Linked DNA regions of Homo sapiens: all the other regions are linked to region 1. The links are contacts of gene promoters, found by promoter capture Hi-C in blood cells and fetal thymus (Javierre and others, 2016). All regions are on one chromosome and are shown on one strand. Each heading gives the region's core, a stretch centred on a gene start or on the middle of the fragment in contact. The rest is flanking DNA. Distances are from core to core; before and after follow the strand shown. Region 1 holds the start of APLP2 (amyloid beta precursor like protein 2). Region 2 has its middle 68 kb from the start of TMEM45B. Region 3 overlaps LOC124902793 (a long non-coding RNA gene). Region 4 overlaps LOC124902793 (a long non-coding RNA gene).

What was found. Contacts are between HindIII fragments. The CHiCAGO score rates a contact against its expected background, and 5 or more counts as called.
Region 2: a fragment that was not itself captured here is called in contact with the fragment with the promoter of APLP2 in region 1 in 1 of 17 cell types (non-activated CD4 T cells); the score reaches 6.7 in non-activated CD4 T cells.
Region 3: a contact is called between a fragment that was not itself captured here and the fragment with the promoter of APLP2 in region 1, in 4 of 17 cell types (naive CD4 T cells, non-activated CD4 T cells, total CD4 T cells and 1 more). The highest score is 6.6, in naive CD4 T cells.
Region 4: a contact is called between a fragment that was not itself captured here and the fragment with the promoter of APLP2 in region 1, in 3 of 17 cell types (naive CD4 T cells, total CD4 T cells and non-activated CD4 T cells). The highest score is 7.1, in naive CD4 T cells.

What each region holds. Positions count from the first base shown.
Region 1 is chr11:130,068,484-130,074,511 of GRCh38, forward strand. APLP2 (amyloid beta precursor like protein 2) reads left to right here and starts at 1,411. Exons shown (of 17, transcript NM_001142276.2): 1 at 1,411-1,599. The coding sequence starts at 1,495. It overlaps LOC107984432 (a long non-coding RNA gene), which reads right to left and starts at 1,166. Exons shown (of 2, transcript XR_001748444.2): 1 at 981-1,166; 2 at 1-630. RefSeq lists enhancers at 102-602, 603-1,103 and silencers at 1,020-1,249, 1,640-1,769, 1,840-2,299. The HindIII fragment of the contact is 4,769 bases long and covers 1-2,852 here.
Region 2 is chr11:129,744,571-129,750,598 of GRCh38, forward strand. No RefSeq gene overlaps it. Among named protein-coding and RNA genes, the nearest start is that of TMEM45B, 68 kb to the right of the region's middle. RefSeq lists enhancers at 5,474-5,975, 5,976-6,028. The HindIII fragment of the contact is 2,083 bases long and covers 1,687-3,769 here.
Region 3 is chr11:129,775,447-129,781,474 of GRCh38, forward strand. The region is part of intron 1 of LOC124902793 (a long non-coding RNA gene); the gene reads right to left. Among named protein-coding and RNA genes, the nearest start is that of TMEM45B, 37 kb to the right of the region's middle. The HindIII fragment of the contact is 1,016 bases long and covers 1,891-2,906 here.
Region 4 is chr11:129,794,699-129,800,726 of GRCh38, forward strand. All of the region lies in intron 1 of LOC124902793 (a long non-coding RNA gene), which reads right to left. Among named protein-coding and RNA genes, the nearest start is that of TMEM45B, 18 kb to the right of the region's middle. The HindIII fragment of the contact is 2,155 bases long and covers 1,408-3,562 here.

The sequences.
Region 1 (6,028 bases), core at 161-2,660:
ACTGCGGCATGACAGACCCAAGTCTTGTCAGTGACCTGAGAGAGGTATGGAATAACTAGGGAGCGAGTGCCACAGTGGGAAACATCCCTCTGAGCAATCAGAAGCGATATTTCAGCCGACTGAGCCGAGGAACAGTGAAAACGCTTCCAACAGGCAGATGTTGGGGAGAGGACATTGCAGGCGCAGAAGAGTGTTAGGAAGGGCTGTGAAATGGAAAGGTGTCGTCTTGGAGGAATCGGGCAGAGCCAGTTTACCCACAGGGAACTGGGCATGTAGGGGAGAGTGGTGCAGAATAAGGCTGGAAAATCCCGAGTTCTTACAGGCGCACTCGTCTACTCCGCGGACAGTCTCTTCCTTTCTATTGTCAGCGTCCTGGGGGTAGGGTTGTGTTATGCATTTAGTTGAACCTGAAGGGACTAGTCCAGGTCTCTCAGAAGGCAGTACCTAACTCACAGGCGACTGAAAGGAAACAAGGCCAGCGGAGCCCTGGCGGTGGCGAGGCTGTGCCAATTGCTAAATGGGGCAGCAGGACGTTTTTCTCTACTGAAGTGGCAATGCCGCGGAGCAGGAAGGCAGAGTAGCAGGTCTCCCGCTAGTGCGTCTCAACCGAAGAAGCGGCGTGATCTCTTCCTAAAACACACGAGGAAGGGGGCCTGGGCTGTGAGGCCGGCGTGGTTCTTGCACCCCTGGTCTCTATCCCTGCCTGGGCAACTGCTGGGAAGGAAGGGTCGGCAAGAGGCCTAAAGACCGGAGGCCAAGGGTGCGGAGCGCGGCCGGACTCAGAGGCGAGGACCCGGCGGAGAGGCCTGGGCGGAGCAGGGCGGGAGAGGCGCGCCCTGAGTAGGGCTCGGGGGAGGACGATGGCTGCCTCCTGCGGTCCTCCCCCTGCCTCGGGGGACGGCCCTTGGCAGACCGTCCCGGACTCCTAATTCATCCTGTTTTTAATAAAACCATTTCCAGAATCAAAAAGAGGGCGGTACCCAAAGGAGTCTGAAGAATGCCCAGCAGGGGCAGGGGAGCGGGGCGTGCCCGTATCGGGAGGCTGAAGGCTGACGGACCAGCGCAGCAGGGACAGATAACCGCGCCGGGGGGCGGAGGCCAGAGCCAGCCCCGCGCCCACAGGGTTGCGGCCCCAGACCCGCCGCGCGCACGCCCCCGCGCCTGGCGGCCACAGGGTCCGGAGCGGGGGCGGGGCCATCCGCGGCCGGGGGCGGGGCCGGGCGGGGGGCGCGCGGTTGGACCGGGCGGGAGGAGCAGGCTCTTCCATCTCCTGATTGGGTCTGGACCGCAAGGGGGCGGGGTCTTGAGGGGTTCTGCGGGCCGGCATTGGGAGCCGCAGAAGGAGGGCGTGGTAATATGAAGTCAGTTCCGGTTGGTGTAAAACCCCCGGGGCGGCGGCGAACTGGCTTTAGATGCTTCTGGGTCGCGGTGTGCTAAGCGAGGAGTCCGAGTGTGTGAGCTTGAGAGCCGCGCGCTAGAGCGACCCGGCGAGGGATGGCGGCCACCGGGACCGCGGCCGCCGCAGCCACGGGCAGGCTCCTGCTTCTGCTGCTGGTGGGGCTCACGGCGCCTGCCTTGGCGCTGGCCGGCTACATCGAGGTGGGGACCGGGCGAACGCCGGAGAGTCGTCTCCTTCGCCCGCCGGAGGAGCGCGGACTGCGGGCGGGCAGCGGGGTCCGCGGCAGGGCGGGCCGGCGGTGCGGCGCCGGGGGTCCGGCTCTGCGGCGGGTCTGGCGCGCCCTCCCCCGCCCGTCCCTGCTTGGCGCAGTGCTTAGCGCTGGAGGTCGGGCTGCCTCAGCCGCCGCAGAGGCCAAATGAAAGGCGTCGGGGCTGCTGGGGGCGGCCGTCCGCCTCGGCCGACCCAGCCCCCAACCCGCCCGCGGCGCCGCCACCTCCTCCGGGGACCCAGTGCCCCCGGGCGCCCGCCCCGCCCTCCCCCGGGACAATGCCAGGGCGCTCCTCTCCCGCCGGAGTCCGCGGCTGGGCTTTCTCCAGGGGCGGCCCCGCGCGGACCCCGTACGCTCCCTCGCGCGGCACCGGGGCCTCGGCTCCGGGCCTCCCACCTGCGAGCGGCGGGCTTCGCCTTTGTTGCCAGGTGGACGCGGCCCCGGCCTTCGCGCGCGGCAGGGATGCTGCGAGCCCCGGGGGAGCTCCCGCGCCAGGCCGCCCGCTGCTCCCTCTGCCGCCTGGGGCCGGGTCGCGGACGCGCATTTTTTAAGTGGCGCTGTTTGCCTGCGTCCGTAGACCGAGGAAACCCGCTCTGGGTGCGTTGACCGCTTTCGTGAGGGTTTCAGTGAGTAGGGAAGGTGCCCGCGAAGGCGTGTAAACTGTTGGAAAAATCGTCCTCTTCGGGTGTCAGAATTCCATCAGTGGTTGTGCTTCGAGGTCGCACCCTGAGCATCCCCGCTGCGAGAAAGGCGAAGCGGCAGGGCCGGGGGTTGGGGAGGCCGCGGGAGGGGGCGGGGGCGGCGGGGTCCGCGGTGCGGGCCGGAGCGGGCAGCCTTGGAGGAGCCCTGCTGTGGCCGAGGGAGACGGCGAGCTTGATCTTTACTTCCCTTCTCGAAGTGGTGCTTGAACTGCTGGTCTGGAATGTGTAGTTCTGGTGTCGTTTATTTCTTCTCCCTCTTCGCTCTTTTAAAAATTACAACTGGTTTCTGCATACTTAGCTAATTTCAGAGAGACCTGAAGACTGGATTTGATTGGGCATTAATTGAGAGCTTTCTTTTAAAGACCTCAGGTTTAGAATATATTTACTTCTACAGAATGTTCAAGTATTTCCACGGGTAAAAATAAATCTAATAAAAAGCCTCTCTGATGGAACGGCTTAACACCTTTGTATTCATCCAGTTTAAAGCTTTGTGACTGTGAGGGTAAGAAAGGAGTTCAGCTTTAAAGAGAAATAGTTAACGTTTATCTACAGAGGATTTTGGATTGCGATTGTTTCAGTGTGTCCACACAATGGTCAGAGTTGTATCTGTGATCCCTGATATGTCGCATGAAAACAGCTAGGTGAGTGAGATGGGAAGAAAAAATAAAGGCTTTCGTATGGAAGATGGGACTTCACTAGTGGGTCGGGTGTCAGAAACCATCGTTCACACTCGCACTCCACTTCCCACTGCTATGACTAATTTGAGGCATTAGTGAATTCACAGTAGAAGACTCAGCAGTTTTAAAGAATTCGTTAATACTTGTGTAGCGGGAAAAAATAATATGAGAATTCATTGTTGTGTGTTAAATTTGATTGTTAGCCACAGCGTTGTTCAGTTGAAAAGTATGGTTGAAGAAAGTAGGAATTAAACATTTCTGAAAAATGGTTTTATGGTAACTCCTGTTCTTTGGAGCTGTATTTTTGCTCACACTTACTAAATGATCTTTCAAGGGGCCTTTTGTCAAGCTATCAGAATTTTATTCATATGAATATAATTTGATTTTGTTTATTTGCTGTCAGGCAAGGGACTGTCGAAGCTTAATTTAGATGAGAGTGGCCTAAATCAGGATGTCTTTGGGAAGGCCCTGATTGAGATTAGCGAAAGGGATTCTGGCCAAATCCCTGATCAAGTTGCTTGGCACAGAATTATTGATTGGCAAATCTTTAGTGTTGCTTGGTGTTGACTGAATTAATCTCTTACACCTGTTTAAAAAGAAAAAGCTCACCTCTGGACTCAGGGTCACTTCCTCTCTTAAATCCGAGACAAGTTCTCCTGTGTGCATGCTCCCATTTGGGACTGAGACAGTATTGTGCTGAAACCCCGCATACTGTGCAGTGGATGACTAGGCTCCTGAGAACCGGAACTTGAGTTTGTTCTGTCACATTTGAAAGAAAGAAGGCCATTTGATTGCCAGTTTTCTGGAAACTCAAACCCAAATTAAAGGATGTCAACTGAGGCAGAGTAGAGAAGGCTTTGTGTTGGTGTTTCTGACAGGTGGTATGGGAGATGTGTAATTGTACCTTGGAGAGAAACCTTGGTGTGCTTCTGATAGGAATATCGTCTTTTTTTTTTTTTTTTTTTTGATACGGAGTCTCGCTCTGTCCCAGGCTGGAGTGCAATGGTGGGATCTCTGGGCTCACTGCAACTTCCGCCTTCCGAGTTCAAGCGATTCTCCTGCCTCAGACTCCCAAGTAGCTGGGATTGCAGGCGCCTGCCACCACGCCCAGCTAATTTTTGTATTTTTAGTAGAGACAGGGTTTCACCATGTTGGCCAGGCTGGTCTGGAACACCTGATCTCAGGTGATCCACCTGCCTCGGCCTCCCAAAGTGCTGGGATTACAGGCGTGAGCCACAGCGCCCGGCCCGTTATTTTTATCATAACTATGTTTTAAAAATCTTTTGATAAATACGATAAACTTCAGTTTTATCAATTAGTTCCTCCTTTTGTAGAGGGAATTTGTTTTACCATCTAAAGCCAGGCTTTCCCAGGGTGTAGCCACAAGCCACATGTGGTTATTGAGTCTGTAGGGTGACTAGTGTGAATGAGGAGTGAATTTTTCATTTTATTTAATTTTAATTAATTTAAGTTTACATTTAAAATCTGATTCAGTGGTTGGAAAACTTTTAACTGAAATAATTTGGTTATGCGAATTTACTTTTAAACTGTACATTTTATGAAATCTAAATGTAGATCAAGTATTTCCTATGAAAATTTAGCTTCTGAATTGAGATGTACTGGAAGTGTAACATACACATCAGATTTTGAAGATTTAATACAGAAGAATTAAAATCTCAATTTTTGTATTGACTAAATTGAAACAATACTTTAGACATGGGCTAAATAAAACATTAAAATTAATTTCACTTGTTTCTTTTCACTCTAATATGGTTCCTAGAAAATTTAATACTATGTATGTGGCTCACATTGTATTTCTGTTAGATGGTGCTGATTTAAAATTTTGCTTAAAGTTGGTCCTGCATATGTTTTTATTAGCAGAATTTTTTAATATGTTCCTATATTTTTCCACATAAAGTCTTGCTGGAAGTTGGCCCAACATGCTCTTAAGTATTTTTGTTAGAACAATTTTGAATGTGTTGATTTTTAAACTTTTTCAATTAAAAATGTTTTACTTAGAAATAACTTTAATCACCAGGCGCGGTGGCTCACGCCTGTAATCCTAGCACTTTGGGAGGCCGAGGTGGGTGGATCACGAGGTCAGGAGTTCGAGACCAGCCTGAGCAACATGGTGAAACTCCGTCTCTACTAAAAATACAAAAATTAGCTGGGCGAGATGGCGTGCGCCTGTAATCCCAGCTACTCAGGAGGCTGAGGCAGGAGAATCTGGGAGGTGGAGGTTACAGTGAGCCGAGATCACACCACTGCACTCCAGCCTGGGCAACAGAGCGAGACTCCATCTCAAGAAAACAAGAATAAAAAAAAGAAATAACTTTAATCTTATAAAAAATGCAAAAATTGTACAATTTTCTTACCCTTTACTCAGATTCACCAATTGTTAACATTTCTTCTAGTCACATTTGCTTTACTACTGCATTTTTTGCCAAATTATTTGAGAGTAAGTTGCATACGTCGTCCCCCATCCCCTTTACCCCTGAGAACTTCAGTATATATTTTCTAAGAGCCAAAGACATTGTCTTACATAGGCTTAGTACAGCCATCAACCTAATGAAATTTAACATTGATACAATACTTGGATCTTATCTGCTGTCGGTTTTCTAGTTAGTTTGTTGACCCAATCATGTTCTTTATAGCATTTGAAAACATGTTTTGTTGTTGTTGTTGTTGTTTTGTTTTTCTTTTTTGAGTTGGAGTCTCACTCTGTCGCCCAGGCTGGAGTGCACTGGCATGATCTCGGCTTACTGCAACCTCCGTTTTTCAGGTTCAAGCGACTCTCCTGCCTCAGCCTCCAGAGTAGCTGGGACTACAGGAGCCCACCACCATGCCTGGCTCATTTTTATATTTTTAGTAGAGACAGGGTTTCACCATATTGGCCAGGCTGGTTCCAAACTTCTGACCTTGTGATCTGCCTGCCTTGGCCTTCCAAAGTGCTGGGATTACAGGCGTGAGCCTCCACACCTGG
Region 2 (6,028 bases), core at 1,478-3,977, 320 kb before region 1:
AGCCTGGCCAACATGGTGAAACCCCGTCTCTACTAATAATACAAAAACTATCCAGGCACATTGGCTCACGCCTGTAATCCCGCACTTTGGGAGGCCGGGGTGGGCGGATCACCTGAGGTCAGGAGTTCGAGACCAGCCTGGCCAACATGGTGAAACCTCGTCTCTACTAATAATACAAAAACTAGCTGGGCGTGGTGGCACACGCCTGTAATCCCAGCTACTAAGGAGGCTGAGGCAGGAGAATCGCTTGAACCCAGGAGGCAGAGGTTGCAGTGAGCCGAGATCGTGCCATTGCACTCCAGCCTGGGCGACAGAGGGAGACTCCGTCTCAAAAAAAAAAAAAAGAAAGAAAGAAATGGCTTGAGATAACTGTACCCAATTTCTACCCCATAGTCTCCATCATGTCCCTAAGACCACAGCAAATCAACAAAATCTAAGTAATCGTGGTGGGTTGCTGTGCAAGAGTGCATTCAACCTCAGTCTCAAGCTTCGTCCTTCTAATGAAAGTGCCACTCTTGAGCAGCTGCCATGTAAGAATTCCAGAACCACTGCTAACTAGCGACTCTACCTAAGGATGATAAGATCAGCGACCCTGTCTTCACATTTCATACCAAGTGGGAGCATATTCTGTGGGGTGGTTTTCCCAGAGGCAGTGGCTTCCTAAATATGCAGCGCATGACCCACCTTGGAAGAATTAACTCATCATCCAGTTACTGACTTGGAGTCAAATAAGCCAGACTCAAATCTCAGCTCCTCCATTCAAAACAAAAAACCTACTATGTGCAAAATTAAACTGTTAAGTTCCCTGAGAGTAGAAACTACATCATTTTTTTAATCTCCAACACCTAGCAAAATGCTCAGCATGAGTGTCAAAAAAAAAATTCTGTAAAGCAGAGTACTCCAAGCTTTCTGAATCATGTTATCATTATCAGTAAGTTTTTAACATGGCACCTTCAGAATATGTATATTTATTTAAATGATATGAGCTATTCGGCCAGGCACGGTGGCTCACGCCTGTAATCCCAGCACTTTGGGAGGCCAAGGCAGGCAGATCACGTGGTCATGAGATCGAGACCATCCTGGCCAACGTGGTGAAACCCTGACTCTACTAAAAATACAAAAATTAGCTGGGCGTGCTGGTGCATGCCTGTAATCCCAGCTACTCGGGAGGCTGAGGCAGAAGAATCGCTTGAACCCAGGACGCAGAAGTTGCAGTGAGCCGAGATAGGACCACAGCACTCCAGCCTGGCAACAGAGACTCTGTCTCAAAATAATAATAAGACGAGGAAGGAGGGGGAGGAGAAGGAGAAGATGAAGGACTATTTTAATACAAGGAGAGCATTATAGAAATATAGAAAAATAGAAACTGAAAAGGGATAATATTAAAAATAAGTAGAAGTTCTAAAACTTCCTTCTTATGCTGCAACGGATCATCTTGTCCTTCCCGTTTTAGACCGCCATTGTAAAGGACACAGTTTCTAGACTCAAGAGGCTTGCAGTCTAGTTGAAAGACTTGAAGCAAAGAATAACCGTGGTACCGCTATAAAATAAATAGTTAACAGTTGAGAGGGGGGTGTGATCACCAAGGGTACAGATGGGCTTCACAGAGCCCATAACCCCCACCAAAATTGAATGCCAATGTGTATAGGTGTGTGCCTAGGTGCATTTTCCTCAGGAAAGGTCCAAAGCTTTCACAGGATTCTCAAATGGATCTAGATCACAGAAAAATTAGAGGAGAACTGGCTAAAAGGGAGAAAAGAACACGAAGAGCCAAAAGGCCTATGCACAAGCATTCTGTCCAAAGTCATCCTGCTCTTGCAGATAAAACGATCTAGACCTAATAGAACACCGCTCCGCCAGTCACCCAGGGAGATTAAGGTTTTCCAAACACTTAATCTCTAGGTTAATGATTTCTTTTTAACTTCTTTTAGCAGTGGCCAGTTTTCAAATGACATCCTACATGGAACCCATGTATATAAAAATAGATCAAAGTGAAGGTGTTCTGGGTGAAACAGGGTTGGTCCCAGGTCATCACCCGTCGTGGTCCCCAGCCTCAGCTTCCCTGCGTTGATGACTCCAAAGCTGAGTTCTTCTTTGAATGGGGCTGTAAATCCCTGCTCTGGGCCTTCTTGAGGCTATGATGTAATTAATGATTTGCCTTAATTTGTGTCCTCGTCATTCAGTTCATAAACCATTCAAAATCACTCCCCCTGCTTCAGCTTCCACCTTTTTTCCTTCCTTTGCCTCTTTTGACAAAGTCGCCAATAGCTCCAGCTAACTGTTCTCTACCACGTCTAGTCCAAGATCACCCTCGCCAGAATCCCCTGGCTTGTGTGTTAAAGACACAGATCCCTGGGCATCATCGCAGACCGATGGACTCAGAACCGCTGAGCACGGATCCCACCATCTGCAACTTCCACAGGCTCCTCAGATGATTCTCATGAGCCGTTAATGGTTAACTACACAAGGCTGTGCACAAAGCCCCACTCAGCCAGCCAACTTCCCACGTGTGGGGTCTTAACCTACTGAGTGTCATCAAAATGGCCTCCACTTTCTTGAGCCCACCCAAAAGCTAAAGCTAGAGCCAGGAGGGGATGAACATTCCGGGCCTGTGTGTCCATGGCTTCAAGGTGAACAATGACTGTGTGTCCTCGGAGGTGAAAATCCTTTCTCCTGTCTGGATGCTCAGAGGCAGGCATTTTTCTTTTAGGCTGGAGTTAAATATAGTGCTTAATGCTTTGCAGACTTCTGGAGGGAAACAGGAGCAGCTCAGAGCAGTGGAATGTACTGGGCTGGAAGTCAGTCATCTACAGCCACAGCGCAGGCAGACATCGAAGCCTGGGGGAAGCTCAACCCCAGAGTCGGACCACTTGCTTTAGGGGTATTTATTCAGAGGAATGGGACAGCCCTTGAACGTTTTGCATTTTTCCTACAGTTTCAAAGGCAGCAGTGGCCTAAGCCTGTGTATAACTTGCCAGGTAAACTGGCATCATGAGAATTTCCCTGAGCTGAGCGGTGACAATTGTTTTTGCCATCTTGATTTAGAAGCCAGAACAATTCAGAGAGTTGTAGATAGTGGGGGGGAAAGTCATAAAATCCGTTCTCCATATTCTGCCCCCTTTCGGGCCCAAATCAAGTTTGGCTTCTTTCATGAAGCCACTCACATCCCCCTGTCTCCTTCTTTTGAACTCCTATGACACTTATATATTAGTGGCATATATTTTAACAAAGTTGCTTTTTTTTTTTTTTTTAATCTTTGAGACAGAGTCTTGCTCTGTCACCCAGGCTGGAGTGCAGTGGTGTGATCTTGGCTGACTGCAACCTGTGCCTCCCTGGTTCAAGTGATTCTTGTGCCTCAGCCTCCTGAGTAGCTGGGGTTACAGGCGTGAGCCACCACACCTAAGTTTTGTATTTTTAGTAGAGACAGGGTTTCACCATGTTGGCCAGGCTGGTCTCGAACTCCTGGCCTCAAGTGATCTACCCACCCCTGCCTCCCAAAGTGCTAGGATTAGAGGTGGGAGCCACTGCACCCGGCCTCTATTTTTATTTTAGGTTCAAGAGGTACATGTGTGGGTTTGTTCCATGAGTATCTTCATGATACTGAGGTTTGGGTTTCTAACGATCCTTTCACCCAAGTAGTGAACACAGTACCCAATAGGAAGTTTTTCAATTCTTTCCCCACTCCCTCCCCTGTTTTTTATTTTTATTACTTTGCTTTTGTCTCCATGTCCCCATATCATAAGCCTCTTGAGAATGGAAACCACGTCTAAGCTTCCTTGTATCCCCCTCAGTGCCTGTCATGGTGCTGGGTACAGGGGCACCAATGAGTACCTGTTGAGATGAACAGGGACCACCTTGAAGGGAGAGGGCTGGGGAAAGGAGAAGGCAGGCACAGTAAGAGCTCATGTCCTCTGCATACTGGTTACATGCTGGTGCTGTCATCGGCATTTAACATGTGCTAATCTGCTTAATTTTCACAGCTGCCTTATGAGGTGAACCCACCTTACAGAACAGGTGATTTAGGCACAGAGATGTTACCTGAATGGCCCAAAGTCACACAGCTACTAAGAGGCAAAGCCAGGATCTGAACCCAGAGAGTCCAGCTCCAGAGTCCATGATCTTCCATGTCTCCCACTACTGCAGAAGGACAGCTATCCCCTGGTGGCATGTGGGCAGTAATCAGGCCAGAGAAACGGAGGAAGTATATACTTTCCAGAAAAAAATAAACCAGACCTAGAATCCTTATCCCAACTCAACTTGCAATGACCGCTAAAAAAGGGTCTCTTCAGCATAAGGACAAGGTGTCTGTCCCCAGGGCCTCAGCTCTGCTTCTAGCTATCAACATGTCCAGAGGACACTGACTGTGGCCTCTGCTCTCTCCCACCTCCCAGAGCTCCTTCCTGCCTCTTCATAGATGAGGGGAGAGATGATGGGAGACAGAGGGTGGCATTTGCCAATGGAGACTAGCCCCAGGTCAGAGAGCCTGGGCTGGCACTTAGGAGTTCCCTGCTGGGAGCGACCCCCAGCCCAGCTGCATGCACCAAACTCCACCCAGCAAGAGAATTCTCACTGCCCTAGAAAAGCAGCTCCCCAAATTTAAACAATCCTGACCCCACCTTCTGCCTCCTGCACATACTTTCTTTGAAATCTTCCAATGCTGAGTAAAGGAAAGATTATTTGATGTCTCTGAGTCTCATCTCTACAAAACCAACCCTGGATGGCCACGTCCAAAGCTACCAGAGGTAACCCCAGTTCTGCTCCAGGGGAGGGGATAAGACAGCATCGACTGCCTTGCAAGGAAGGATCTTGCAACACGCAGCCCGAGAAGAACCTTTCAAGGAGGACAGGGGAAGACTTTATTTTAAAAGTAGTGACTGTTTCAAGGATCTACCTTATGAAGTAAAAGTGAACTTCTTGCTCCAGTAAGTAATTTAAAAGACAAATACGTTCACAGACATACATAGCAACAATGAAGAAACCATAAACCATCACACCAGTTGTCCAAGGCATAAACTGTCAGTGTGGTTCCAAGAGACATTGGCTTGGTTTGGTTTTGATGGAAATCTCTGTATTATCTATTTTTTCCCTAAATGCAAAGTGAAGAGTGTTTTTATCCTTCCTTTATTCACTCAGTGAACACCTACTAAGTGCGACCTCCAGTCCTCAGGCTGCATGCTGGAGATTCAAAGGTGAATATGAACTCAATGAGATGACAGCCCAGAAGACAGAGATGGATAAGTAAATAGTCTCAAGTGCAGTGAAAATTTTGGATTTCTGGGATAGGCGCTATTGATTCTATAAAGGGGACAAACCATGAAGGAAGAGTTAGACGAACCCAAAGGCCATCACGGAGGAGGCAGTGCTTCTGCAACATTGCGAGGAACTGCAAGTAGTATAAAAAAGCAACAGCAGGCGTCGGGGAAAATAGTGAGAATGAACACTGGACATGGATGTGGTGGCACACCTGTGGTCCCAGCCACTCAGGAGGCTGAGGTGGGAGGATTGCTTGAGCGCAGGAGGTTAAGGCTACAGTGCGCAGTGATTGTGCCACTGCACTCCAGCCTGGGCGACAGAGAGAGACTCTGACTCTAAAAAAAAATGAAAATAAAATAAAATATTAAAGACGTAGACAGGAGTCAGATCATGGAGTAAAAGAATTATTCCATTAATGCAGCTCTTGTAAGCACTTCCATCTGACGTAGCCGAGGACTTGATTCAAAATCCTTTCTTTGACCTGCATTGCCTAGAATTCTCCGAGAGAAAACAAGCTTTGCAGACTCTCAAAGGGAATGTCTGGCCATGGTGGAACGCGGGCCCTTGGAGGACTGGCCGGGGCTATGACTCTGGAAGCAGCAAGGGAGGCAAGTGCGCAAGCCTCACCGAGAAGGGAAGACCAGGCTGCTCTCAGCTCTCGGCCGGGCTCCTCACACACCGGAGTGGGCCTAAAGTTCGAGGAGCTTCTTTCTCCTTTTCTCCCCGCAGTGCTTAACGTCTCGGGCCACGGGCTGCCAGCACTCACCTTCTGCCG
Region 3 (6,028 bases), core at 1,149-3,648, 290 kb before region 1:
ACAATGTATAAAAACAATTATCCACCAAAACAACATATTTATCCTCACTATGCAAGCCTGGTTCAACATACAAAATCAATTAGGTAATCATCACATGGGGGGGCTGAGGAACAAATAGCACGTGATCATTTCAATAGTTGCAGAAAAAGCATGTGACAAAATCCTACATCCATTCATGATTTAAAAAAAACTCTCAGTAAACTAGGAATAGAGGGGATCTTCCTCTACTTGACAAAGCATATCTATTAAAAACCTACAGCTAACATCATACTTAATGGTGAGAATCATGAAGTTTTCCCACTAAGATCAGGAACAAGGCAAGGGTGTTCTCTCTCATCACTGTCTTTCAACATTGTAATGGGAATCCTAGCTAATAAAATTTAAAAAAAGGAAATAAAATATATACAGACTGAGAAGGGAAAAAATAAAACCGTGTTTGTTTGCAGATGTCATGATTACCTATGCAGACAATATAAAATAACCAAGAAAAAAAAACTTCTGGAATAAGTGATTATAGCAAGGGTGCAGGATGCAAGTTTAATATACAAAAGTCAGTCACTTTTCTTTTTCTTTTCTTTTAAGATGGAGTCTCACTCTGTCACCCAGGCTGGAGTGCAGTGGTGCGATCTCAGCTCACTGCAACCTCCGCCTCCCGGGTTCAAGTGATTCTTCTGCCTCAGCCTCCCGAGTAGCTGGGACTACAGGTGCACCACCACACCCGGCTAATTTTTGTATTTTTAGTAGAGACTGGGTTTCACCATATTGGCCAGGCTGGTCTCGAATTCCTGACCTTGTGATCTGCCTGCCTCGGCCTCCCAAAGTGCTCGGATTACAGGCATGAGCCACCGCGCCCAGCCAATCACTTTTCTTTATATCAACAATGAACAAGTGAAAACTGAAAAACATAATACCATTTATGTGCTCACTTTGGCAGCACGTATTCTAAAACACATAATACCATTTAAATTAGCACCCTGTAAAATGAAATACTTAGTTATAAATTTAACAAAATATGCACAAGATCTATGTAAGGCAAACTATAAAACCCTGATGAAAGAAATCAAAGAAAAACTAAATAAACGGATAGACAATTGATGTTCATGAATACAAGGACTCAATATTTTTAGGATGTCTGTTCTTCCCAACTTGATCTATAGATTCCAATGCAATCCCTGTCAAAATCCCAGCAAGTTTATTTCACAGATATCAACAGAGTATTCTAAATTTTATATGCAGAGCCAAAGCACACTTAATAGCCAATTCAATATTGAAAGAGAAGAACAAAGTTGGAGGACTGACACACCTGACTCGAAGACTTACTCTAAATCTACGATAATTAAGACAATGTGGTATTTGCAAAAGAATAAATCAATAGATCAATGGAACACAATAGAGTCCAGAAATTGACGCACATAAATATAGTCAACTGATCTTTGTCAAAGAACAAAGGCAATACGTTGAAGAAAAATAGAATGTTTGTTATAATAGACATCCACATTTAAAAAAAAAAAGAATCCAGACACAGACCTTACACCCTTCACAAAAATTAACTCAAAATGAATCGCAGACCTAAATATAAAACACAGACCTATAACGCTCCTAGAAGGTAATAGGACAAAATCTAGGTGAGCTTGGGTTTAGCAATAACTTTTTAGTTGTGACACCAAAGTCATGATCTATGAAAGAAAGAACTGATAAGTTGGACTTCATTAAAAGTAACAACTTCTGCTCAGCAAAGGACACTGTCAAGAGAATGAAAAGACAAGCCTTTGGGAGAAAATATTTGCAAAAGACATAATTGATAAAGGACTGTTATCCCCAATATACAAAGAATTCTTTAAAACTCAAAAATAAGATAACGAGAAACCCAATTTTTTAAATGGGCCAGCAAGCTTAACAGAACCTCACCAAAGAAGATAAACAAATAGCAAACAAACATATGAAAAGATATTCTACATCCTGTGTTACCATGGAAATACAAATTAAAATGATGATGAGATACTACTAACACCAATTAAAATGCCCAAAATTCAGAATACTGACACCACCAAACACTGGTGAGGATCTGTAGCAACAAGAACTCTCATTGCTGGTGGAAATGCAAAATGGTACAGCTACTTTGGAAGATACTTTGGAGGCTTCTTACAAAACTAAACATACCCTTACCATACAATCCAACCAGCACACTCCTTGGTATTTACCCAAAGGACTTGAAAACTTATGTCCACACAATTACCTACACATGGATACTTATAGAACCTAACTTTATTCCTAACTGGGAAATATTAGAAGAAACCAAGATGACCTCTAACAGTTAAATGCATAAATAAACCAGATACATCCAGACAAAAGGGTATCATTCAGCACTAAAATGAAATTATCAAGCCATGAAGCGACACGAAAGAAACTTAAATGCAAATTACTAAGTGAAAGAAATCAGTCTGAAAAGGCTACATACTGTATGATTCCAACTACATGACATTCCGTAAAGGCAAAACTATTAAGACAGGAAAAAGATCAATGGTTGCCAATGATTGGAGTGGAAGGAAGGGTGAAGGTGGGACACAGGATTTTTAGGGCAGTGAAACTACTCTGTATGACACTGAAATAGTGGATGCATGTCATTATACATGTGTTCAACCCCATAGAATGTACAGCACCAACGGTGAACCCTAATGTCAACTATGTCAATAAAGGTTCATCAGTTGCAACAAATAGGCCATTTTGGTAGGGGTTGCTGGTCGTGGGGAGGCCATGCATGTGTGGGTGCAGGTGAATATGGGAAATCACTGTGCCTTTTGCTAAATTTTGTTTAGAAGAGAACAGAACCCAACCTAGTATGTTCCAGTAGTAACAGTTATTCGCATGGGGGCTGAAAACATTAAAAACAGGTGGGTGGGGTCAGAAGCTTACCTGAGAGAAAATGGAAAGGAGATGAAAACAAAAAGGACCAAGGAACAAATGCAATGAATAGAAAACAAATATCAAGACGACGCATTGTAACCAAAGCATATTGGTAATCTTGATATTAGTTATAAATGTACTAAACAATTATAGACTACATACAAGAAACCCATTTTTGCTCATATTTATTTTATTTTGATTTTTTAATGCTGCACAAGACAATATCTATTTTTTCTTGTATTTATATGCTGCTATTTACTGAAAGTGAGAGGGACCTTATGTGGCCTTTTTCTTTTTCTGTAGGCCACCTTAGAGCTTTCTAAATTTGGAATACTTGATCAAGCTGAAAGAAAAAGGGAGTTTCACAAAATCAATGGGGGTGGGGAGGGGAAGGCTGCTTCATTAATTATGCCCTGTGGTGGTTGATTAACTGCTTGTACAATTGTTTCACTTTTAATAAATTACGCTTACAGTGCTCCTGCTGATGAAGGCACCTGAGCTGAATACAGTTACATCCGGGGTACAAGTGAAGGGACAGTGGCATTAGTGGCAGTTATATCCACTAGCAGGGCCAATTCTCAGAAAAGTCGCAGCCATGTGGGCCCTGTGGGGCTTGAGAGTAGCATCCTCAGGAATAGGTGATGAGCAAATTCTGGAAAGTGGTCCCAGAAGTCAGGCCTCGGCAGCAGAGCAGGTCTCAGGTGCTTGGCATGCAGTCGGCCTGCTGGCTGACACGATCTTGCCTGGGAAGCATGGGACACAGTTCATGGGCTGCTACTGGTGGGAGCCAGGGTAATGGGGTGCACATCCACCCTCCTGAAACAGGTCAGGGTCACTGTTCTCTTTGTCTAAGGTATTATCTGAGCTCGTGGTCTCACAACCAAGAAAATTAAAGAGCATGGACACAAAGGGTGAGGTTGGAGCAAAAATTTAATAAGCAAAAGAAGAAAGCTCTCCACAGAGGAGAGGGGTCCCGGATGGTGGCCAGGTTACAGTTGAATTCAAAAGCTTTTATAAGAAACTGCTCTCATCTCCGTAACCGTTTGAGTAACTTATCTATAAAACTGTCTGCATAACTCCCCTTATCTATACAGTTGTGGGTATGTCTGTAGGTAAGCACAAAGTACAGCTTTTTGTTTGTGTAAGTGTGGGTTTAAGTAAGCCCCCTTCCCCCCTGGGCAAGTTCCCTTGGAGCCCACCATGTACATGTCTGAAAAGGGGAGAAACTTTTTCCTGGGAGCTCGCTAATCATACAAAGAACAAAAACAGCCTCTGTGCTGGACTGTGCCTGCCTTACCTGTTTATCTGTGGCTTATCTGTACACCTGCAGTCTGAATTTTTTCCAGGCTGCTCTATTTTTGCCTGTAGCTGTGATTTTTCAGGCAGGCAGCGTCACAATTTTTCAGACAGGCAGCTTCTCCAAGGACTAGTCTGTTAGTTGTTTACCCAACTAATTTTTCCATTCCTTCTCCCTCATCCCCACCTTGAGGAGTGGAACCCTTAACTGCTGCTAGGGAGACCGGGTGTTGATTTTTCTAGCTACTTCCCACTGGAGAGGGGCATTGTGTGGGTAACAGCAGCTAGGATTTTCCCAGGGCTGGTTTAAGGGTCCCCAGAAGAAAGATACATTTATGCATGGTTCCATTTGCATTACCATTTGGAGCTTGATAGCCTCTAGGCAAAAAGAAACAATTTGAGTTATTAGAGGACGTGTATTAAAACAAGACAAGGTGGATAAGGACAGCTTTAAAAAATCCCGAGGCTGCTGTCATGCTCTGATAACTGGTGGCTACAGTTATGCCTGTTAAGATTTGGGTGCTTGAACTTGGCTTTGGTTACCTTTCTTGGTCGCACTTTCCCAAAAAGGAAACCTCTGGGTTACGGGTACTCTATTTATTCTTATTACCTGGCAGGTTTGTAGTATAATTGCCCAGAACTGGAATATTGTTCCAGATTTTTACATTGCCCATCCCTTTCTGTCTCCTCTGAGCTGCAGCTTGAGATCGCTGATTGGTTTACAGGAATAAGCAAGGTTTGTTTAAAATATAGGCAAGAACTTAAAAACAACTAATGAGACTAGAAATTAATGACAGCTGTGTGATAAGTTTTGAAACAATTTCTGTCCCTTCAGTCCTTATTTTTATTAAAAACAGATTGTGATAGGACTGAGTTGTTTGCAAAATAAACTTTAGTCTTATACCTGGTTTGATTTTTTGCATAAAGTACAGCAAGAATAATTATTTTTACTTAGGCCTTTCAGATTGGCTCTGAATGTGTGTTAGTATTATTCCTAACATATAACTTGAAGAAGATTAGACTTCGTTTTGGCAATTCCATGTACCTAAACATGTCAAATAATGTTCTTTACCTCTCTTCTGGGTGCTCCAGGGGCCCTCTGTAGCACCAAAAAGCTAGGGGTCAGGAAAGAAAACCTTGAGGCTGAAGTTTGATTTGGGGAAGCCTGTTAAATATGTTAGAGTTTCAAAGCACTTAATATTATGAAACAGAATTTTAGATTATCGTAAGTTATTTGTTTTGCCAAAATGATGGGTCAAAGTTTTGAAAAAGCAAAAAACATTCATCAGCTTTTACTATTACATGAAAATCCTGTTCAAGAGAGAAAGTTCAATTTTACCCTTGCATTAGTCTACTATTGATGTTAACTCCAATTTTCATTTTTATTTTTATTTTTTTTGAGATGGAGTCTTGCTCTGTTGCCCAGGTTGGAGTGCAATGGCACGATCTTGTCTCACTGCAACCGCCACCTCCTGGGTTCAAGCAATTCTCTTGCCTCAGCCTCCCAAGTAGCTGGGACTACAGGCACAAGGCATCACGCCCGGCTAACTTTTGTATTTTTAGTAGAGACGGGATTTCATCATGTTGGCCAGGCTGGTCTCGAACTCCTGACCTCAGATGAGCTACCCGCCTTGGCCTCCCAAAGTGAGCCACCGCGCCTGGCCTAACCCCAATTTTTAATGAAACCTTATAGATGATTCTATCCAACCTTAACCAGTTTGACCAGGAGATGACATTTTCACAAACCTTTTATAACCATTTACATATTTTGCTAAAGAACAGATTAGTGTCTTAAAAAACCTTGTTGTACTTTTACTTCAGTGCTCAA
Region 4 (6,028 bases), core at 1,235-3,734, 270 kb before region 1:
CTCCATGTCTCACATCCAGGGCACACTAATGCAAGGGGTGGGCTCCCAAGGCCTTAGGCAGCTATGCTCATGTAACTCTGCAGGGCTCAGCTCCCACAGTTGCTCTCAAGAGTTGGCATTGAGTAGGCCTGTGGCTTTTCCAGGCACACAGTGCAAGCTGTTGGTGGATCTACCATTCTGGGATCTGGAGGACGGTGGCCATCTTCTCACAGCTCCACTAGGCAGTGCCCCAGTGGGGAAACAGTGTGGGAGCTCCAACTCCACATTTTCCTTCTGCACTGCCCTAGTAGAGGTTCTCCATGAAGACGCTGCCCCTGCAGCAGACTTCTGTCTGGATATCCAGGCATTTCTATACATCCTCTGAAATCTAGGCAGAGGCTCTCAAACCTCAACTCTTGCCTTCTGTGCACCTGGAAGCCCAATGCCACACAGAAGCCACCAAGGCTTGGGGCTTGCACCCTCTAAAGCAATGGCCCATGCTATACTTTGGACCCTTTAGCCAAGGCTGGAGCTGGAGTGGCTGGGACACAGGGCGTCATGTCCCAAGGCTGCACAGAGCAGTGGGGCCCTGGACCTGGTGCACAAAACCATTTTTCCCTCCTAGGCCTCCAGGCCTGTGATGGGAGGGGCTGCCATGAAGGTCTCTGAAGTGCCCTGGAGGCACTTTCCCCGTTGTCTTGGCTATTAACATTTGGCTTCTCTTTACTTATGCACATTTCTGCAGCAGGCTTGAATTTCTCCCAAGAAAATGGGTTTTTCTTTCCTACAACATGGTCAGGCTGAAAATTTTCCAAACTTTTATGCTCTGCTTCTCTTTTAAATATGCTCTGCTTCTCTTCTCATTTGCTTATGCAAATGAACATAGGCTTTTAGAAGCAGCCAGACCACCTCTTGAATGCTTTGATGCTTATTAATTTCTTTCAGCAGATACCCTAAATCATCTCAAGTTCACAGTTCCACAGATCCTTAGAGCAAGGGCACAATGCTGCCAGTCTCTTTCTAAAGCATAGCAACAGTGACCTTTGCTTCACTTCCCAGTAAGTCCCTCATCTCCATCAGAGACCATCTCAGCCTGGACTTCGTTGTCCATATAACTATCAGCATTGTGGTCAAAACCAATCAACAAGTCTCTAAGAAGTTCCAAACTTTCCCTCATCTTCCTGTCTTCTTCTGAGCCCTCCAAAGTGTTCCAATCTCTGTCTGTTACCCAGTTTCAAAATTGCTTCCACATTTTCAGGTATCTTTATAATAATGCCCCAATTCTCCTGGTATGAGTTTTCTGTGTTAGTCAGTTCTCACACAGCTATAAAGAACTACCTCAGACTAGGTAATTTATAAAGAAAAGAGTTTTAATAGACTCACAGTTCCACAGGCTATACAGGAGGCATGGTTCGGGAGGCCTCAGGAAGCTTACAATCATGGCAGAAGGGTGGAGGATAAATGAGCATGTCTTCGCATTGCGGCAGGAGAGAGAGAGCAAAGGGAGAAGTGCTGCACACTTTTAAACAACCAGATTTCGTGGGAACTCACTCATGATCATGGGAACAGCAGTGGGAAATCTGCCTCATGAGCCAATCACCTCCCACCAGGTCCCTCCCCCAAGACTGAGGATTACAGTTCAACATGAGATTTGGCTGGGGACACAGAGCCAAACCATATTAGCTGGAAAAAATAATAATACTTATTCTGGATGGCTAGCACCAGGATGGCCAAGGAGAGATTAGATAATGAGAAACTCTATGATAAGATCTTCCAAAATAATAGTCAATTATACTAGCAACACATAAACCACTTCCCATTGAATTAAAATGCCATCCTTGCCTTTGCTAAGTTCCACATATAATTACATTCATTTAAGAACACTAATTTTTCTTGCAATATTGGTCACTGCAAGGAAAATCTGTGTGTTTTTGCTTTGTAAGATTTGTGTGTTTTTGCTTTGCAAGCCCAGCACTAGGTTTTGGGAAATGACTGTATTGTGAAAGGAAATCAGAATTCTTTCTGAGCCTCTTTCATTGTCCCTAATATAATGACTTCCAGAAAATTGTGTATCTGGAATCAAAGAGATTTAACAGCAAGACTCCAGGTTTTCAAAATATAATCGCTTTTTAAATGCTCATGTTTTAAAATGTTCAGTTCTTTGGATTAAATGTTCAGTTCTTTGGATGAAAGATGCTATATTCCCTCGGTGTAAATGAATAAAAAGATTATAAAAAGAAACCCACTAATCTGTCCCACTATTATACTAAAACAACTTGGTAATAATTAACTGGTATTATTGTATTATTCTATAATTGATTATTAGTAATTTACCTTTTAACTACTTGATTGAAGATTAACTTGACCTGTAAAACGAACCTAAACAGTCAGACTTACTTTTTCAAAACTGGTTTGTCACCCAGGTGCAGTGGCTCACACCTATAATGCCAGCACTTAGGGAGGCCAAGGCAGAAGGATCAATTCAGTTCAGGAGTTTGAGACCATCCTGGGCAACATAGGGAGACCTCATCTCTATTTAAAAAAAAAAATTAAAATCAGGGAAAATGGAAGCTAGGAGACAGAGCTAATGTGCAGCTCCCACATGGATGGACAGAACAGCATGTGGAGACTCACACCATGATCTTTTGCTCTAAGAACCATGGCAGGAACATACCAGGAAAAGCGAAAAAATTCACAGAGCCTTTGAAAGAAGCAGCACGCCAATGCAAATTTCATGAAACAGGCAAAAAAACTGTGAGTTCCCAAAGTGTGAGAAAGGGAAAACTTACCTCTGAATACACATCCCCACTGGGGAATCCGAAAATCCAGATCACAGGAGAAGAATTTAACCTTACCTAGAGATTAAATGGATTTAGGGATTCACACAAAGTAGAAAAGTAGAAGTAGCATTGGGAAGTGCCTTGGATGTACTCCAAGTCTCCAGCTCAACCCCAGGGAAGCCATCCCTGAGTATATCTTACAGAGGCCCTCAAGGAAGGCAGCCAGTGGAATTGGGGAAGGGCCACAGGGTGAAGAAACCTCCCAAGTGAAATTGGTAGTGGTTTCAACTGGGCACAAATTTTCTTGAGTGGAGTCCAGGTGATGAGTGGGAGGTGTTGTGGATACAAGGTGCTGCCAATGAAGTAGGCAGATGGAGAGAGGCGAGGTCTGAAAGCCGTGCTTGCTTTCTCAGTGGGGTAAGCTCACAGCCTGGGGCAAGGTCTGAATGGTCCACTGCAGAAGAGAGGCTGGCCTGACCAATGGTGTGGGAGCTGGGTCAGGCCTCTTGCTACCAGCTATCTCCTACTACCCTGGCAAACTATATGATACAGTGGAGGTAGCCAAAATCCTCTTGGGAACATAACCCCATTGGCCTGAGAACTATCCTCCATCACTCACAGTGGCTGCAGCAAGCCCCACCCAAGGAGAATCTGAGCCTAGACCCTCTTAACTCTGCCCCAACCTGATGGTATTTTCCTACTTGCCCTGGTAGTTGAACACAAAACTCAGAAACTCTTGGGAGCTTTATGGCCCTGCCAATCACCTGAGTATCCAAAATACTTACCCTGACCATCTTAGGGCAAGCTTAGAGCCCCCTACGACTACTGCAGCTGGTGCTCTCTTGAAAGCACCATCTCCTGGCTAGAGGCCAACCAACTCAGGCCACCACAGTAACTCATGACAGAATAACCCTGATCCCAGGAAGGAAAAGACAACACCTAATTCCACTTCCTGAAACATCCTGGCTAACCAAAGGTCCTGTGTGTGTTCATGTGACAACTTTACCACTAGTGTAACCAGCATTACAGAAAGCCAGCACACTAAACATATCTACAACCAAGGACTTTCATAGAGTCTACCTCACTCCCCTGCCACCTCCACCAGAGAAGGTGCTGCGATCCAAGGATGGGAGACCTGAAGAAAGACCACATCACAGAACTCTGCAGACATTCCCCAGCACCAGCACATAGCCTGGTAGCTCCACTGGGTGGCTAGGCCTAGAAGAGCAGTAAGAATCACTATAGTCCAGCTCTTAGGAAGCCCCAGTCCTAGGGGAAAGGGAAGAGCACCACATCTAAGGATCACACCATGGGATAAGAGAATCTGAACAGCAGGCCTTGAGTTTCAGATTTCTTCACTGAAATAGTCTACCCAAATGAGAAAAGAACAGAAAAGCAATTCTGGTAATATGACAAAACAGGGCTCTATAATACCCCCAATGATCACACCAGCTCCCCAGCAATGGATGCAAGCCAAGAAGAAATCTCTGAATTGCCAGATAAAGAACTCAGAAGGGTGATTATTAAGCTACTCAAGGAAATGCCAGAGAAAGGTGAAAACCAACTTAAAGAAATTTAAAAAGCAATACAGGATATGAATGAAAAATTCTCCAGAGAAATGATGTCACAATGAAAAAAATCACTTCTGGAAATGAAAGATACACTTAAAGAAACACAAAATGCATTGGAAAGGTCAACAATAGACTAGAGCAAGTAGAAGAAAGAACTTCAGACCTCAAAGACAAGGCTTCTGAATTAACCCAATCAGACGAAGACAAAGAAAAAAAGAAGTTAAAAATGAACAAACCCTCCCAACAGCTAAACCTAAGAATAACTGATGTTCCTGAGGAAGAAGTGAAATCTAAAAATCTGGAAAACTTGTTTGAGGGAATAATTGAGAAAACTTCCCTGGTCTTGCTAGAGATCTAGGCATCCAAATACAAGAAGCTCAAGGAACACCTGGGAAATTCATCACAAAAAGATCATCACCTAAGCACATAATCATCAGGTTGTCTAAAGTCAAGAATGTTAAGGAAAGGATCTTACGAGCTGTGAGGCAAAAGTATTAGGTAGCCTGTGTAGGAAAACTTTTCAGACTTCTCAGCAGAAACCTGATAAGCCAGAAGGTACTGGGGACCCATCTTTAGCCTCCTGAAACAAAATAATTTTCAGCCAAGAATTTTGTATTCAGTAAAACTAAGCTTCATAAATGAAGGAAAGATAAAGTCTTTTTTCAGACAAACAAATGCTGACAGAATTTGTCACCACTAAACCAGCACTACAAGAAATGCTTAAATGAGCTCTAAATCTTAAAACAAAAGCTCAAAATACACCAAAATATTAATAGAACCTCCTTAAATCATAAATCTCACAGGGCCTATAAAACAATAATACAGTGGGGAAAAAAACAAGGTATTAAGGCAACAACTAATACGATGAATAGAACATCAGTACCTCACATCTCAATACTAACATTGAATGTAAATGGCCCAAATGCTCCACTTAGAAGATACAGAATGGCAGAATGGATAAAAATACACCAACCAACTATCTGCTGCCTTCAAGAGACTCACCTAACACATAAAAACTCACATAAACTTAAGGTAAAGGGATGGAAAAAGACGTTTTACATCAATGGAATCCAAAAGGGAGCAGGAGTAGCTATTCTTGTATCAGACAAAACAGACTTTAAAGTAACAACAGTTTAAAAAGACAAAGAAGGACATTATATAATGATAAAAGGCCTTGTCCAACAGGAAAATACCACAATCCTAACTATATATGCATCTAACACTGGAGCTCCCAAATTTATAAAACAATTACTACTAGACCTAAAAAACAAGACAGACAGCAACACAATAATAGTGGGGGACTTCAGTACTCCACTGACAACACTAGACAGGTCGTCAAGACCAAAAGTCAACAAAGAAACAATGGACTTAAGTCCATTTGCACCAAGGTATAGTTTAACAGATATTTACAGAACATTCTATCCAACAACTGCAGAATATACATTCTTTTCTTCAGCACATGGAACATTCTCCAAGATAGACCATATAATAGGTCACAAAACAAGTCTCAGTAAGTTTTTAAAAATCAAAATTATATCAAGTATCCTCTCAGACCACAGTGGAATAAAACTGAAAACTCCAAAAAGAACCCTCAAAAGTATAAAAAATACATGTAAATTAAATAATCTGCTCTTGAATTATCTTTGGGTCAACAGTAAAATCAAGATGGAAATTTAAAAATTATTTGAGCTGAATAAT